Regions from separate parts of the Homo sapiens genome. Here region 1 is linked to region 2. The links are contacts of gene promoters, found by promoter capture Hi-C in blood cells and fetal thymus (Javierre and others, 2016). All regions are on one chromosome and are shown on one strand. Each heading gives the region's core, a stretch centred on a gene start or on the middle of the fragment in contact. The rest is flanking DNA. Distances are from core to core; before and after follow the strand shown.

Evidence for each region. The method cuts DNA at HindIII sites, captures the fragments that hold promoters and counts their contacts. A CHiCAGO score of 5 or more calls a contact.
Region 1: a fragment that was not itself captured here is called in contact with the fragment with the promoter of TMEM154 in region 2 in 2 of 17 cell types (total B cells and monocytes); the score reaches 5.5 in total B cells.

What each region holds. Positions count from the first base shown.
Region 1 is chr4:152,434,103-152,441,181 of GRCh38, reverse strand. All of the region lies in intron 2 of FBXW7 (F-box and WD repeat domain containing 7), which reads left to right. Among named protein-coding and RNA genes, the nearest start is that of MIR3140, 52 kb to the left of the region's middle. The HindIII fragment of the contact is 2,678 bases long and covers 2,136-4,813 here.
Region 2 is chr4:152,678,136-152,685,757 of GRCh38, reverse strand. TMEM154 (transmembrane protein 154) reads left to right here and starts at 5,761. Exons shown (of 7, transcript NM_152680.3): 1 at 5,761-5,888. The coding sequence starts at 5,825. LOC105377495 (a long non-coding RNA gene) reads right to left here and starts at 5,673. Exons shown (of 4, transcript XR_939359.3): 1 at 5,454-5,673; 2 at 5,085-5,171; 3 at 4,618-4,683; 4 at 4,096-4,395. RefSeq lists enhancers at 5,678-5,987, 5,298-6,127. The HindIII fragment of the contact is 2,211 bases long and covers 4,019-6,229 here.

The DNA.
Region 1 (7,079 bases), core at 2,225-4,724, 240 kb after region 2:
TCTCTGAAAGCTTCAGTCATCTCAATAAGGAGAGGAACATACTTAGCCATATAAGTTCGAGTTGCTGAATATACATTCTATGTAGGTAGGTCTGTGTAATTTTGATACGTATTTTCTGTTTATCACAGTGGAAATTGTTCTTGATCAATGTTTTTATTTCAATAAGAAAGATATATTGCCGCTTCCATCTTAAAATTTCTACATAGAAGAGACATGACGCTTAGTGAACGTTATTGAAAAAAAAAAACCGTATAAACTTAAGCAATGAAGAAAGAGAAACAGTGTTTCAGAATGTTACAGTATTGAACCTGAATTGGTAGAGAGAATAGAAAGTGGTGTGAACAGTCAGGGTCCAAATGACATTCTATATAAAGCATATAGGACATGATTTGGAGCAGGGAGTGGGATGGGGAATGCTTAGATTACATCTCTTTACTAGATGGGTGTACTTGTTCTGTGCAAGGTACCATTTTCTCCCCTTTTTTGTTAGCTCATATATCCCTTCCCAGTTTTGAAGAGTGCTCCACTGGTATTTATAACTTTAGTGATTTGACATTTCAGGATATACCTGTTTCAGAAAATCATAAGAAGTTTTAAAAATGCCTTGATGTAAAACAAAATTTCAGGTAAACTTAAATATTTTAAGTTTTTAATAATTTGTGTTACCAAAATTAAATTTTGGTTAGAGTTTGACATTCCTAAGTGATAGAATCATCTTAAACACATGTTGTCAACAGAAATTTGAATGCTGAAGTCAATTTTTGTTATTGTTATTGTTCTGCTTAGTGAAGAAATGTATCCTCTCTAACCAGGGACAGTATGTACTGCTTTCTCCTTAATACTTTGAGATTTTCATAAAGAAAATAATTTCAAAGGTGTTGTGCTGCAAGCTAAAGAGATTATTTCTAAAGGAAGAATTTGTCATTCTAATGGTTGTCATCTTCCTTGTGGCATTATTATAAAATTAAGAAACTGAAAAAAAATTTTTTTAGAAGACATAGTATATACCAGAATTTAAATTTAGTTTGGCATAAGAGGCCACATATTCTACCTATGCTATTACAGTCTGTATTTGTTATTGCCTAATTTTGACTCATTTTGAATATCTCACTCCAGTCCTTTTTATTAGTATTTCTTAAAACAAAAATGGGCAATATGTTGGATTGACTGAAAATAATTTTTAAGTGTTTAGTAGCAATAAAATTTAATCTTTTAGTGCAGATTGGTTTACCCCATAACAGCACATATGGAAGAAGTAAAGCCAGGTCTGTATGAAGCAGGAGGTGACATTGGACTTTTTTTTTTTTTTTTTTTTTGTGACGGAGTCTTGCTCTGTCACCCAGGCTGGAGTGCAGTGGCACGATCTTGGCTCACTGCAAGCTCCACCTCCTGGGTTCACACCATTCTCCTGCCTCAGCCTCCTGAGTAGCTGGGACTACAGGTGCCTGCCACCACACCTGGCTAATTTTTTTGTATTTTTTAGTAGAGACGGGGTTTCACTGGGTTAGCCAGGATGTCTCAATCTCCTGACCTCGTGATCGGCCCGCCTCAGCCTCCCGAAGTGCTGGGATTACAGGCCTGAGCCACCGTGGACTTCTTTAAATAACCATAGTACAGGCAGTTACTTTTGTTATATAACAGTATAGTTGTCTCTGAAGAAAACCTGAAGCTCTGCAAAATCGGGCCCTGAAAATCGGTTTCTGAGTGGCTTGTTCCTGTGTAAACTTGTAATCTCTGTAGTAACGAAACCAGTACCCATTCTAATAAAAATATTATATAGCTAAATATTTACCCCAGTTAGTTCTAAGTTCTAGGATTTATGCTTTCTCCTTTGAAATGTAGGTCCTCGAGAACATTCATTTCTACTTATGATGAAATTGTGAAAACTAGTAAATCTGATCCAGGGTGTAGTTTTTATCAGTTGCCTCTCACCCCTTAAAAAAAAAAATTAACGTGGGAAAAATATTGTCATGGATTTTCTATCTGTACTCACAGCTTGACCAGATGGTTTTAACATTGTGGAATGCCTAGCAGTTTAAAGCCATTAACTAGCCTCTGGTTACCCTCTTCTGGATTTCTAGTTTTTTTCTTAAGGTCATCATGTATTGCTTAAGCTCTGTCTTTGTGAGAAAGCTTGTCCCTGCTGGCTTTAAAACTTTACTATGCTGGGGAAAATTTTGGACTAAAGTGACATTCACATTATACTGACCTCATCGCCCAAATGATGAATGAATGAACTAATGTACACTACAAGAACATGTCTTAATAGGAAAGTAGACTGTTGTCTGTAGTTGTCCCATTGTTTTATCATTGCTGCTACTATATTGACATGAAGTAGCAGTGGGTGTGCATGTTTGTATATTTTTTCTGTGCTGTTAAATAAGTCCACGCACATCTCCCATGTGGGTAGGGTAGTACTGGGTGATGGAGTAGGTTTACCAGTACCATTTGTCCCTTACTTTACTTGTATAGCTTTATGTTTTAAAATAGAGTGTTTTTGTTTTTTTGAGACAGAGTCTCAGTCTGTCACCCAGGCTCGAGTGCAGTGATGTAATCTCGGCTCACTGCAACTTTTGCCTCTGGGGTTCAAGTGATTCTCGTTCCTCAGCCTCCTGAGTAGCTGAGATTACAGGTGTGTGCCACTCCTGGCTAATTTTTATGTTTTTAGTAGAGACAGTGTTTCACCATGTTGGCCAAGTTGGTCTCGAACTCCTGACCTCAAGTGATCCACCTGGCTTGGCCTCCCAAAGTGCTGAGATTACAGGCATGAGCCACCGTGCCTGGCCACTTTTTGTTAGAATTAATACTTTGAAGATACCATGGATTTGGTTCTAGACCACTACAATTAAGCAAATATCATAATAAAGTTAGTCACAAGAATTTATTGTTTCCCCAGTGCATATAAAGTTATATTTACATGGCATTGTAGCCTATTAAGTATGCAATAGCATTCTGTCTAAAAAGTGTGCATACCTTAACTAAAAAATACTTTACTATTTATTTATTTATTGAGACAGTCTTGCTCTGTTGCCCAGGCTGGAGTGCAGTGGTATGGTATTGGCTCGCTGTAACCTCCGCCTCTCAGGTTCAAGCGATTCTCTTGCCTCTGCCTTCCAAGTAGCTGGGATTACAGGCACCCGCCACCACACCCGGCTAATTTTATATTTTTAGTAGAGACCGGGTTTCACCATGTTGGCCAGGCTGGTCTTGAACTCCTGACCTCAAGTGATCTGCCCACCTCTGCCTCCCAAAGTGCTGAGATTACAAGCGTGAGCCATCGCGCCTGGCTAAAAAATACTTGATTGCTAAAAAATGCTAACAATCACCTGAGCCTTCAGGGAGTCACGATCATTTTACTGCTGTAGTCTTGCCTCAGTGTTGATGGCTGCTGACTGATAGAGTGATGTTGCTGAGGGTTGGAATGGCTGTGTCAGTTTCTTAAAATAACAATGAAGTTTGCTGCATTGATTGACTCTTCCTGTCATGAACGATTTCTCTGTAGCGTGTGATGCTGTTTGATAGCATTTTATGCAGAGTAGAACTTCTTTCAAAACTGGAGGCAATCCTTTCAAATCCTGCCGCTGGTTTATCAATTAAGTGTATGCAGTATTCTAAATTGTTTAACTTTGTCTCAGGAAACTACTTTCCTTGCTCATTCAGAAGAAACAACACCTTATCCATTCAAGTTTTATTATGAGATTGCAACAGTTTAGTCACATTGTCAAACTCCAGTTCTAATTCTAGTTCTCTTGCTATTTCTACGCGCCTGCAGTGACTTCCGCCACTGAATTTTTTTTTTTTTTGAGATGGAGTCTGGCTCTGTCTCCCAGGCTGGAGTGCAGTGGCACGATCTCAGTCAGCTCACTGCAACTTGCGCCTGCCGGGTTCAAGTGATTCTTCTGCCTCAGCCTCCTGAGTAGCCCTCCACTGAAGTCTTGAACCCCTCAAAGTCATCCACGAGGGTTGGAATCAACTTCTTCCAAACTCCTGTTGATGTTGATATTTTGACCTCCTTCTGTGAAACACAGATATTCTTAATGGTATCTGGAGTGCAGTTATCCTTCTCAAAAGGTTTTCAATTTACTTTGCCCAGATCCATCAGAGGATTCACTATGTATATATATAAAACAGCTAATGTATTTCTAAAACAAGACTGGAAAGTAGAAATGACCCTTGATTAATGGGCTGCAGAATGGGTATTGTATTATTAGGCATGAAAACAACATGAATCTCCATGTACATCTCCATCAGAGCTCTTGGGTGACCAGGTTCGTTGTCATTGAGCAATGAGTAATATTTGAAAGGAATCTTTCATTCTGAGCAGTAGGTCTCAACAGTGGGCTTAAAATGTCTAGTAAAGTCTTGCAATAAATGGATGTGCTGCCATCTAGGCTCTGTTATTCCATTTGTAGAGCACAGGGAGAGTATATTTAGCCTAATTCTTAAGAGCTCTACAGTTTTTGGAATGGTAAATGAGCACTGTTCTACCTAAAGTCAACAGCAGCATCAGCCCCTAACAAGAGAGTCAGCCTGTCCTTTAGTTTGGAAGGCAGGTATTGACTTCACCTGTCCAGCTAGAAGAGTCATGGATGGCATCTTCCAGCAGGGGGCTGTTTCATCTACAGTGAAAATCTGTTGTTTAGTGTAGCCACCTTCGTCAGTGATCTTAGTTAGCTAGACCTTTTAGGTAACTTGCTGCAGCTTCTGCATCAGCATTTGCTGCTTTACCTTGTACTTATATGTTATCAAGACAGCTTCTTTTTTTAAGCCCGTGAACCAACCTCTGCTAGCTTCCAGCTTTTCTTCTGAAGCTTTCTCACCTCTCTCAGCCTTCATAGAATTGAAGTGAGTTAGGGCCTTGCTCTGGATAAAGCTTTGGTCTAAGGAAATGTTATGGTTGATTTGACCTTTTATTCAGATCACTCAAAACTTTTTCCATATCAACAATAAGGCTATTTCACTTTCTTATCATTTATGTGTTCACTGGAGTAGCACTTTTAATTTCCTTCAAGAACTTTTCTTTTGCATTTCTAGCTTTTGATTTAAAGTGAGACTCTTCCTTTTTGCCTGAATGCTTAGAGGCCATTTTAGGATTATTAATTGGCCTAATTTTAATATTGTTTTGTCTTAGGGGATAGGGAGGCCTAAGGAGAGGGACAAAGATGGGGGAATGGCTGGTTGGTGTAGTAGTCAGAATACACAACATTTTTGCCGTCTTCCATGGGTGCGGTTTGTGGCACCCCAAAACAATTACAGTAGTAACATGAAAGATCACTGATCATTGATCATCATAATAGATACAATAATAATGAAAAAGTTTGAAATACTGCAAGAATTACCAAAATGTGATACAGAGACATGAAGTTACCACATGCTTTTGAAAAAATTGTGCTGATAGACTTGCTCAACATAGGATTGCCACAAACTTCCAATTTTTAAAAAAATATACTATTTGTGAAGTGCAGTAAACTGCAGTCCAGTAAAATGAGGTATGCCTGTAAAACAAACCCGCAGAAAAAAAATCGTCTACTCAGAAGAGCACTGACAAGTATCATTGAATTATTATATCTACAACTTGCTAATCAAGCTAATGTAGTGTGAGTTGTAGATACAACCATTTTAATGCAGGGGTTCCTGAGATCTGAAAATTATTTTAAGTGTGCCTCCAGTGTAGAAAGATTGAGAAAGGTTGAAAGTGAAGATCAATAATGGGATGAACTGGAAATATGCCTACCTGATAATACAAAGCAATGAGAGAAACATAGTATCACTTCCGTCATATTCCTGCCTGCGATGCATAATGTGAATCCAAAATTAGACAAACCAAAATTAAGGGCCGTTATACAAAATGAATGGCTTATAATCTTTCAAAGTTGTTAAAGGAATGAAAATAAAGAAAGGATCAAGGAAGTATTTCAGATACAAAACTCAAATGGGTTCTGAGGAATAGACAGTCTGATATGTCAGTGCCATTTTCCTTACTTTAACATTTATATTGTGATTATGAAGAAGTATGTCCTTTTTATAAGAAATGCATACTTACGTGTTTGGTAGGGGATGGTGCATCATGTTGGAAACCCCTCCCCTCCCCTCCCCTCCCCTCCCCTCCCCTCCCCAGGCCTCTCGTTAGTAGTTTCCAAACCTTTTGCATGCTGAACCCATTGCTCAAATGAAGGCAGAATATTAAACATGTAAAGGAAGAGCTTGTGTGTGGGGGGGGGGGAGCGGGGGGAAAGGAGGTTGGGGGAACAGAGAATTAGGAACCCCTGAGTGACTACAGAACTTCTGAAAACCACTGTTCTGTAGGATAAAATCTAAACTCTGAAGCACATTATACAAACCTCTATCTATACACATCAGTTTGTCTGAAATTGTATATTTCTCAACAATATTGATCTATTTGTATTTCAATATGTTGTATGCTCTCATATGTCTGTATCTTTGCAAATGATATTTTCTTCTCTTTAACGATTTTTGTCTTACCCTGCTGGTAAGGAAGTCACCTTCCCTCTCCCTTCTGTATATCCTTGTCAAGGAACTATGGAAATTGAATGGCATAGGTCTTGATACAAGAACCTCTCTTTTCTCTTTATAAAAAAGTCAGTAAATAGTGGTGGAACATTCAGGAGAAAGTTGGGGACATAGAGACTAAGAAGGCAATGCAGTATTATTAGGACAGGGGGTAAACTAAGGCATAGAGGACAGATTTGATGAACATATTATCTTTTTTATATACATTATAAGAAGTAGAAGGCTAGAAAAGTGAACATGCTTGCTATTGCACGTCTCACTTTCCAATTTCATGAAGAAAGCAAAAACTACTTCTACTTTATTACTTCTTTTTGATGTTAATTGGTACCACATAGCAAGTTTGCATTATAGTACTGAGCTTTAAAATGCAAGGATATACTCATGTATATACACAGACAATAAATAATAGGTTCTTTTCCACATTCAGGAAGTGAAACTCAGCTGTCCGTACGACACTTACTGTCCATATATAGGCATCCCTCAGTATCTGCAGGGGATTGGTTCCAGGACCCTCACACCAAAATCTAGGTATACTAGTCCTGCAGAAC
Region 2 (7,622 bases), core at 4,512-7,011:
AATTCTATACCTCCGGCCAGTTAGCAGGATTGTCATACCAACTGCTAGTACAGGAAACAAAGTGGAATAACACTGCTAGTTAATATGTATAGAAAAAGATCTGGAAGAACTTAAAAACAGAATAATTTTGATTCTGCTTTTTATGTATTTTTAGTTTTTCCACAACAAACATGTATTGTCTCTGTAATATGAAAAATAAGTTATTTAAATTGAAAACTAGTCACCTGTTACCTTCTCTCACCTGATACAATATCCTCTCAAATTTTGCTTATTTCTGGCACTACCCACATATATACCCTGGCACTGGATATACCCTAGCATCTTTCCTAATTATTTTATTTTATTTTATTTTATTATTTTTTGAGATAGGGGCTCCCTCAGTTGCCCAGGCTGGAGTGCAATGACGCAATTATAGCTCACAGCAGCCTTGAACTCCCAGGCTCCAGTGATCCTCCTGCCTCAGCCTCTTGAGTAGCTGGGACTACAGGTAGGTGCCACCATGCACGGCTAATTTTTTTATTTTTTGTAGAGACGGGATCTCACTGTATTGCCCAGGCTTTCTTTTATAATTTGCTACATCCTCCAAATCTTTTGTTCCTTTGTTTTTTCTAGTTCCATTGGTGTTGAAGATTTAGTTCGCAAGGGCACTATCAACTGTGAATCGGGAAAGTCAAATTCAACAGAAAAGCAAAAGAAGAATCATTGAGGCCATCAATCTGCATGTATCATTCTGGAGTGGACTTTGGTATAAATACTATATATTTATTAATGAGGTATGTCCTACTTGCAAAATATTTGGAGAGACTTGGGTGGAAAAGGCCTTAAGATATGATTTGATCAAAAACAAAACAGCAATAGAAGAAGAAGTCTAGTTCCTTTTAACAGATGCAGGAGACCACAGATGAGTGAGACGAGGGTAATCAAGGCGGGGAGACAGAGACACAGCCAGGTCTTCTGGTTGTATTCTGATGGGTGTTATGTGGGTGGCAGTAAAGGATGAGCATTTTGTTCAGCTTGGGTTAGGGGGAGGAGGAAGGCTTCTAAGATAGCTCCCTGGTGGAGATGTCTTCTAAATTAGGGCTAGACAGATGAGTTACAGTTAGCCAGGAAAAGAAATATTCCTAGAAATGGTAAAGACACCTGGGCTAATAAAAGTTACACAACCAAGCTTCAACTTTTAGTTCCAGGCCTCCTGGCAGTCAAGGCAAAACAGGAAAATACAACGTGCTTTTTATTTCTTACCTTTGGAGAAAAGGGACCTTTCTAGGAACTAGCAATAATTTCCAGGAACTAACTAACACATGATTCTCGAGTTTTATCTATCATGCATAAAAATCCCCTCAAACATTACAAATACAGAGTTATGGACCTCAGCTCTAGGGATTCTGACTCAATAGTTCTGGCATAGGGTCCAGGACTCTGAATTTTAACAAGCTCCCCTGAATAATTCTAACATAGGTGGCCCCCTCCAGTGCACTTAAAAAAATACTGCTGTAAAGGGATTTTCCCCCCATTTACTCACTTCTCTGTTCTCTGTCCTAAATGCTGAGGATAGACTGGAGAGCAAGACAGAGAATGCCATTGCTCTCAGAGGGCAATTAGAGGAGGACTGTGGATGTTCAGCAGTGAGCTGCTGCTCTGTCTCTTAGATACGCCCCAGCACCCTCTAGCCCAGAGCGCTGCACTGTGTCCCACGTGTCAACTGCCACTTTAGCTCCTAATCACAATCCTTTACAGTTTCATGTTGTGGTGACCAGGCCATCTACCTAGGCCCTGGAAGACCCTGTCATGGAAGCCCCTAGGATTATCCAAACCTTGCAACAGTTTCTCTGAAGAGTATTGGCAGCCAGGATGCAGAGACAGAGACCCCCAAGGGTGGAGATAGGCTGGTCAAGATGAGCCCGGCTGTGCAGGCTCCAGCTGCCCCCACTTCACGCGCAGTGAGATGGCTGTCAGCCCCTCTCCTGGCTGTGGCTTCTCTGCACACGCTAAATGTCAGCCTAATCCTTCTGCCCCAGCCTCTGCCCTGCCCGGCTACCTCTCTGGGCATTCCTTCAGAACCTGGGACTTCAATCTGCCTCCTCCCTGCACCTTCCTAGCTGGCTTCAGAGTGATACACAGGCCCCACCTGATGTTACTATTATCTTGTTTGAGGGCCAGCCCACAGCCAACCAAACACCCAGGAACCATCCACTGTCACTAGCAGGCATTTAGACAGAGAAAGAAGCTCCAGAACATTTGTATGTGAGTGTCGATGTGAGAGCGTGTGTGTGTGAGCACGTGTGCACATTTCTGAGTATGTGAGTGTGCCTGTGGGTGTGTGTTGGGAGACTGGATGTACAAATGGACAGTGGCCAAATAATATATGCAAAAACAGAACACTGGCTCCCAGCTTGCAGCAACCAACCCCCAGAAACCAATTCACTATCTTCAGTAGCAAGTCTAGGAAGCCAGCCTGCTAGAAATCAAACTTGTAGGAGGTCAGAGCACCTTCTGACAGATTCCCTCATTTTTATCTCCTCTTCTGATCTAGCAGCAGCAAAATATGCACCTCCTCACCAATCACTAGAACTTGCTGCTGGTTCCCCATGCCAGCAGCCTCCCTTCAGGCCATACCTGAGCCTTCCTTTTGTTTTTTTTCTGAAACGACTCTTGCTCTGTCGCCCAGGCTGGACTGCAATGGTGGGATCTCGGCTCACTGCAACCTCCACCTCTCAGGTACAAGTGATTCTTCTGCCTCAGCCTTCCGAGTAGCTGGGATTACAGGTACCCCGCATCATGCCCGGCTAATTTTTGTATTTTTGTAGAGATGGGGTTTTACTATATTGGCCAGGCTGGTCTTGAACTCCTGACCTCAGGTGATCCGCCCACCTTGTCCTCCCAAAGTGCTGGGATTACAGGTATGAGCCACTGCACCCGGCCCTGAGCCTTCCTTTTATCGACTGTAAAGTTATCTCATTCCTTGGCCTGCCTTTGGGTCTGTGCCAAAATGCAGCGATGGTGGCTGACTCTCTTGCTATGGCAAGCTCTGAATTAATATCCATTGCTTGGTTTCATTTGCTTGTGCTCATTTAGTCTTCATTTATTTCCACCATGTGCATGAATGTGTGTGTGAGAGACAGCTGTGTGTGTATCTGAGTGCATGTGCACATCTGTGTGTATTGGGAATGGCAGGATCGGAGTGTGAAGAGGAACGCGGAGAAGGCTGTCTGCACCCACTGGAAGATCCTATCATTTATCTGGATTTGTTCCCTTGGAGTCCCTCTTCTTTTATGGCCCATGGAGTGGTGGTGGGGAGGGGGCGGGGGGAAGGGAGGGAGGATAGGATGAGAGTCACTTCTGTAGCACAGACAGTTGATTGTAAAAGTCACACTCCTTTGTGTAAAGTAATAAAGAGTCCCTAGACATGGTTCCCAGTGTCCCTTCCTGCCCTTCTGAACATGATGAAGCACCATACTTCTTTCCTGCTTTCAGACAGCCAATGGCAGGCTCCAAAGTGGCATTACCCCTGCCTGTGTGCCACTCACTCTGAGGTTCCCCTGTGCCCCACATCTGGGACTGAGGCCCTGACTTCCTGCCACCAGTGCATCGGGATTTAATCTGAGGCTGGGTGGCTATTTGCCTAAATTAATGGTTGCTAAAATTAAAACAGAGGTAAATAGCCCTTTACCTACCACACAGCCTCCCTGGGATTTTAACTGCAGCAAAGAGATCATTGAGGTGCTACCATTTTCTGATCAATCATGGTAATTTTCTTCCCCCTAAGATCAGCTTAATCATGCTAAGGGTCTTAGAGAGCACAGGGGTCAAAAGAAAATTACATGGTTGGGCAGGATTTCTCTGCAGCTCCAGTTTATTTTGTACCTCACTCTGATTTAGTGTTGCACTGCTCAGAAGCAATGCATAGTGCACTTGTTGAAACAGTAATGAACTGTTTGGCCATGTCATGGGGCTCAGCAGAGGTCCACAGAATAAGACAGTCTGTGGTCCAATCCACAGACACCTGACTGCAAAAGCTTCCACAGGGAGCTGAAGTTTAAGATGAAAGAAACGAAGGCTGACAACCTTGCCCTTGACAAACATTTGCCTCCAGCCTGGGATTCAACAATGTTTTAATAACATTTAATAATATTTTAATAGGGCATAAATGGTAAAATGGAGAGAACTCCCAAGCCCTGGGCCTGCTTTCTTGCACGTGTGTGTCACAGCTGCAGAAACACGTGCTTGTACAGGAATAATTGCCACCCCAACTCAGTACCAGCAGGTCTTGGAGCCCGTGATCTATTCACATGCTCAGCAAGTGTTTAATTAATAGTTCTTTCTCTGTTGTTTTCAAATCAATCACCCAGTTTTGAGCACGTCTATTTTCTCCTGCTGTTTGTTCTGTATTGTCACCTGTGGTGCAAAAAGCATATTTTATCAAGAATTGACTTAATTGCCAGTTTAAAACATTAAAGTGCATACTGTAAATCCATTAACAAACTGATCCTTACATGAATCACCAACCTATTTCTTGTGAATAATAACTGAGATAAACAGTGACTAATGACATTGAAAAGCAGCAATGCATTAAAGAAAAATTAACAGCTATGTCAGGGGCTAAGGAATTCCAGTCACCTCATACGTTTGCACCAACCAGATCACTGAAGACAAACGACGGGAAGTCATGACTCAGATGGTGATCTGCAGGGAAAGGTTTAGAGATGAGATGTGTCTGATGCCTCAACACTACCCCTCTCTCCATCTGTCTGTCTCTCTTGGCACCACGATTATGAAACTGCATTCTGAATGCTTAGGCCCTAAACCTAAACCAAGGGAAGGACCTCCAATAGAACACCCAACACACACTAATCTCCACTGTATACTAGACACAACCTTTCTGTATTGTTTCGATTGGATAGGATTTCTACCATTATTCTATTTCGTTTCTGTCCTGTTTTGTTTGTTGTCTGAGAACTTGATTGTCAAGTAAGAAGGAAGGAAGGTGAGATGCAGATTCACCCCTACCTCCACCCTCAGAGCATATTCTCCTTTGGAAATGGACCTTGAAAAGATCATTTCTCTCTGGGGAAGCAGAACATAACCTTAAGGTGTGGGTGTGGCATCCACCTCCATCTGGCGTGGGCCTTGGTGGGAGGAGGGCATTCCAGAGTGGAGAAAGGAGAATGGACCTGGCGGAGAGAAGTGGTCTGGCAGTTTTCTGATGATGCAGTTGTCCCTGCTGTCTGGGCCTGCGCTATCCAACACAGCAGCCACTAGCCACTTGGAGTTATTAAAATTTTATAAAAATTCAATAAAATTTAAATTCCATCAGCACTAGCCTCAGTTCAAATGCTCAGTGGCCAATGTGGCTGATACTGTATCAGACGGCGCAGACTTGGAACATTTCCATCAGGGCAGAAAGTTCTACAGGACAGCTTCTTCCTAGGGTCTAGGCAGCCCCGGAGCCTCACCTGGGGGATAAGCAAAATCACAGAGTGAGAATGCGTGTGGTCCAGGACCCCTCCCAGTCCCAGATACCGAACGACATCTGAGCAAGGGACTCTGTTGCCCCGGGGACGGTTTCAAAAGCTGGAGGCCGGGACTCCAAAGGGCTGGAGAGGCGTGATAATAGAACCAGTGCTTCAACAGCAACTTCTCTTTTGCAATCCTTGCTGGTCTGACAGGCTCCTGCAGAATTACATCACTTCCTAAAAAACAGGCACACACCTCTCCTTCAAGTCAGCACCGACCCAAACAAGCAGGAAACAGGAAATGTTCACGTTTCAGAGAGGCTGCAGCCCGGCGCAGCATCCTGAGCGCGCCTCTGCCGAGGCGAGCGGACATGCAGGCTCCCCGCGCAGCCCTAGTCTTCGCCCTGGTGATCGCGCTCGTTCCCGTCGGCCGGGGTAAGCCGCCTCCACTTCCTACTCCTGGGAAGGAGGATCGCAAAAGCTGGTAGGGTGCCCGAGGCTACAGAACTCTGCCGGGGAGGGTGACACCCAGAAAATCTAATCCTTTCTGTGAAAGAAGTGGAGAAAATTAGAACTCCTTTTTTTGGGGGGTGGGATGGAGAGGGGACTTCGCTTTCGCTGCAGCTGTCTAAACTGGCTACAGCTCTCACTTCATTTAACCCTCTTTCAGTCTTTGTCTTCCAGGAAGTGTGCGTCCCTGTAATTTACCAGCTTTAATGGGCATATTAAGAAAACCATAAACTTTTTGGCAGTTTATGTAAAAAAAAACAAAAGCTTCAATTGGCTGAAACAGAGACATGATTAATTTGCTTTTTATGGTGTGGGCTGAGAAGTCTGCTGATTCCAAAATCTCCTGGAAAAACTGGGGTGTGAAAATTTACTACTAGAAAGCATACTAAAGAAACGACATAAACTTAAAAAAAAAAAAAGGAAACGGGAAATTATCCGAAGAGCTACCAAAGAGCTATGTGTTAGAGGGTAGCCCTCTAACACATCAAGTAAGGTCTTTCATCTACTTTTATTGCACCTTGTTACTTTTACAGATTTTTTTTTTGCATTGATTGTTACTAATGAAGATTTGTTTGAAAAAGTAATATGATTGGAACCAATCAAAGGTATTGGAAAAAACAATATTGAATCTCATTATTATGGGCTAAAAGCAACAACTGATTTACACCCTTGCCAGTTGCTACAACAAGCACAAGCACCTTCAGCTGCCTCTCTTGTTGACTTGCCTTTGGGCAAATACACTGGCTGCCCATTGTTTCTGTCAATGAACACCGACTGCTTCTAGTGTAGGGCAGTATTTACCAAGCAAAAGGAAAGTTCTCAAGCTACAGTTCTTTAGATAGAATGAGGGACATCAGCCCCAACCTAACAGATGTGACAACTTCCTGGAGGTCAGCAGCCAGCACCCAGCCACCCCACTCCATCAATTTCTCTTCCCCTGGGTGTTCTCCATGTGGTCCCCCAGGCATCTGAGGTAGAAAACAAAGTGGAAGGCAAATCATTCCAGCTGAAAAGATGTCTGGTTAAATTGAGTTTAGTGTTCAGAGTGGGTTTGGAAGTTGATGTGTTGTTTTATGCCCAGTGTTTTGGAGCTGGAAGGGAACTTGAAGATGATGCAGCTCAAACCATATTGGGCACACAGGTGAAGAAACAGAGGTGGAAGAAGGGAGATGTCTGGGTCTTGCTGCTAGTCAGCTCTTCTGGCTTCTACTCCAGAGTTCTTTGAGCTCCTCCACCCCCCACCACCACTGCCCCCCTCCCCCCACCGCCGCCCCGGAACCAATCACTGTCTCTGCCAAGAGCTCTGGAACCTTTCGTAGTAGGACATCAGGGAAGAAAAGCCTAGCCATCCTCCTTCCACCTCTTCTATTGCACAACACTGCCACAGGTGCCTCAAACACTCCCTTAATACTAATTCATCTTGCCTGAACTTTTTTTTTAGCTTCTAAAAAATGATTGAGTCCTAGTGTCTGCAATTCAGGAGATGCAAAAAGAGAATCTGAAGAGACTTGGTTAAAGTTGCCTTTCTGACACCTGAATCTGATCGTGCACATCTTCCCCCTTAAGGACCCCTCATTTATGCCCCTTCACTTGTTCCTCATTTTTGCCCCTTAGACTCTCACTGCAACCTCCTTCCCAGTGGCACCTCCTTCCAGTTGT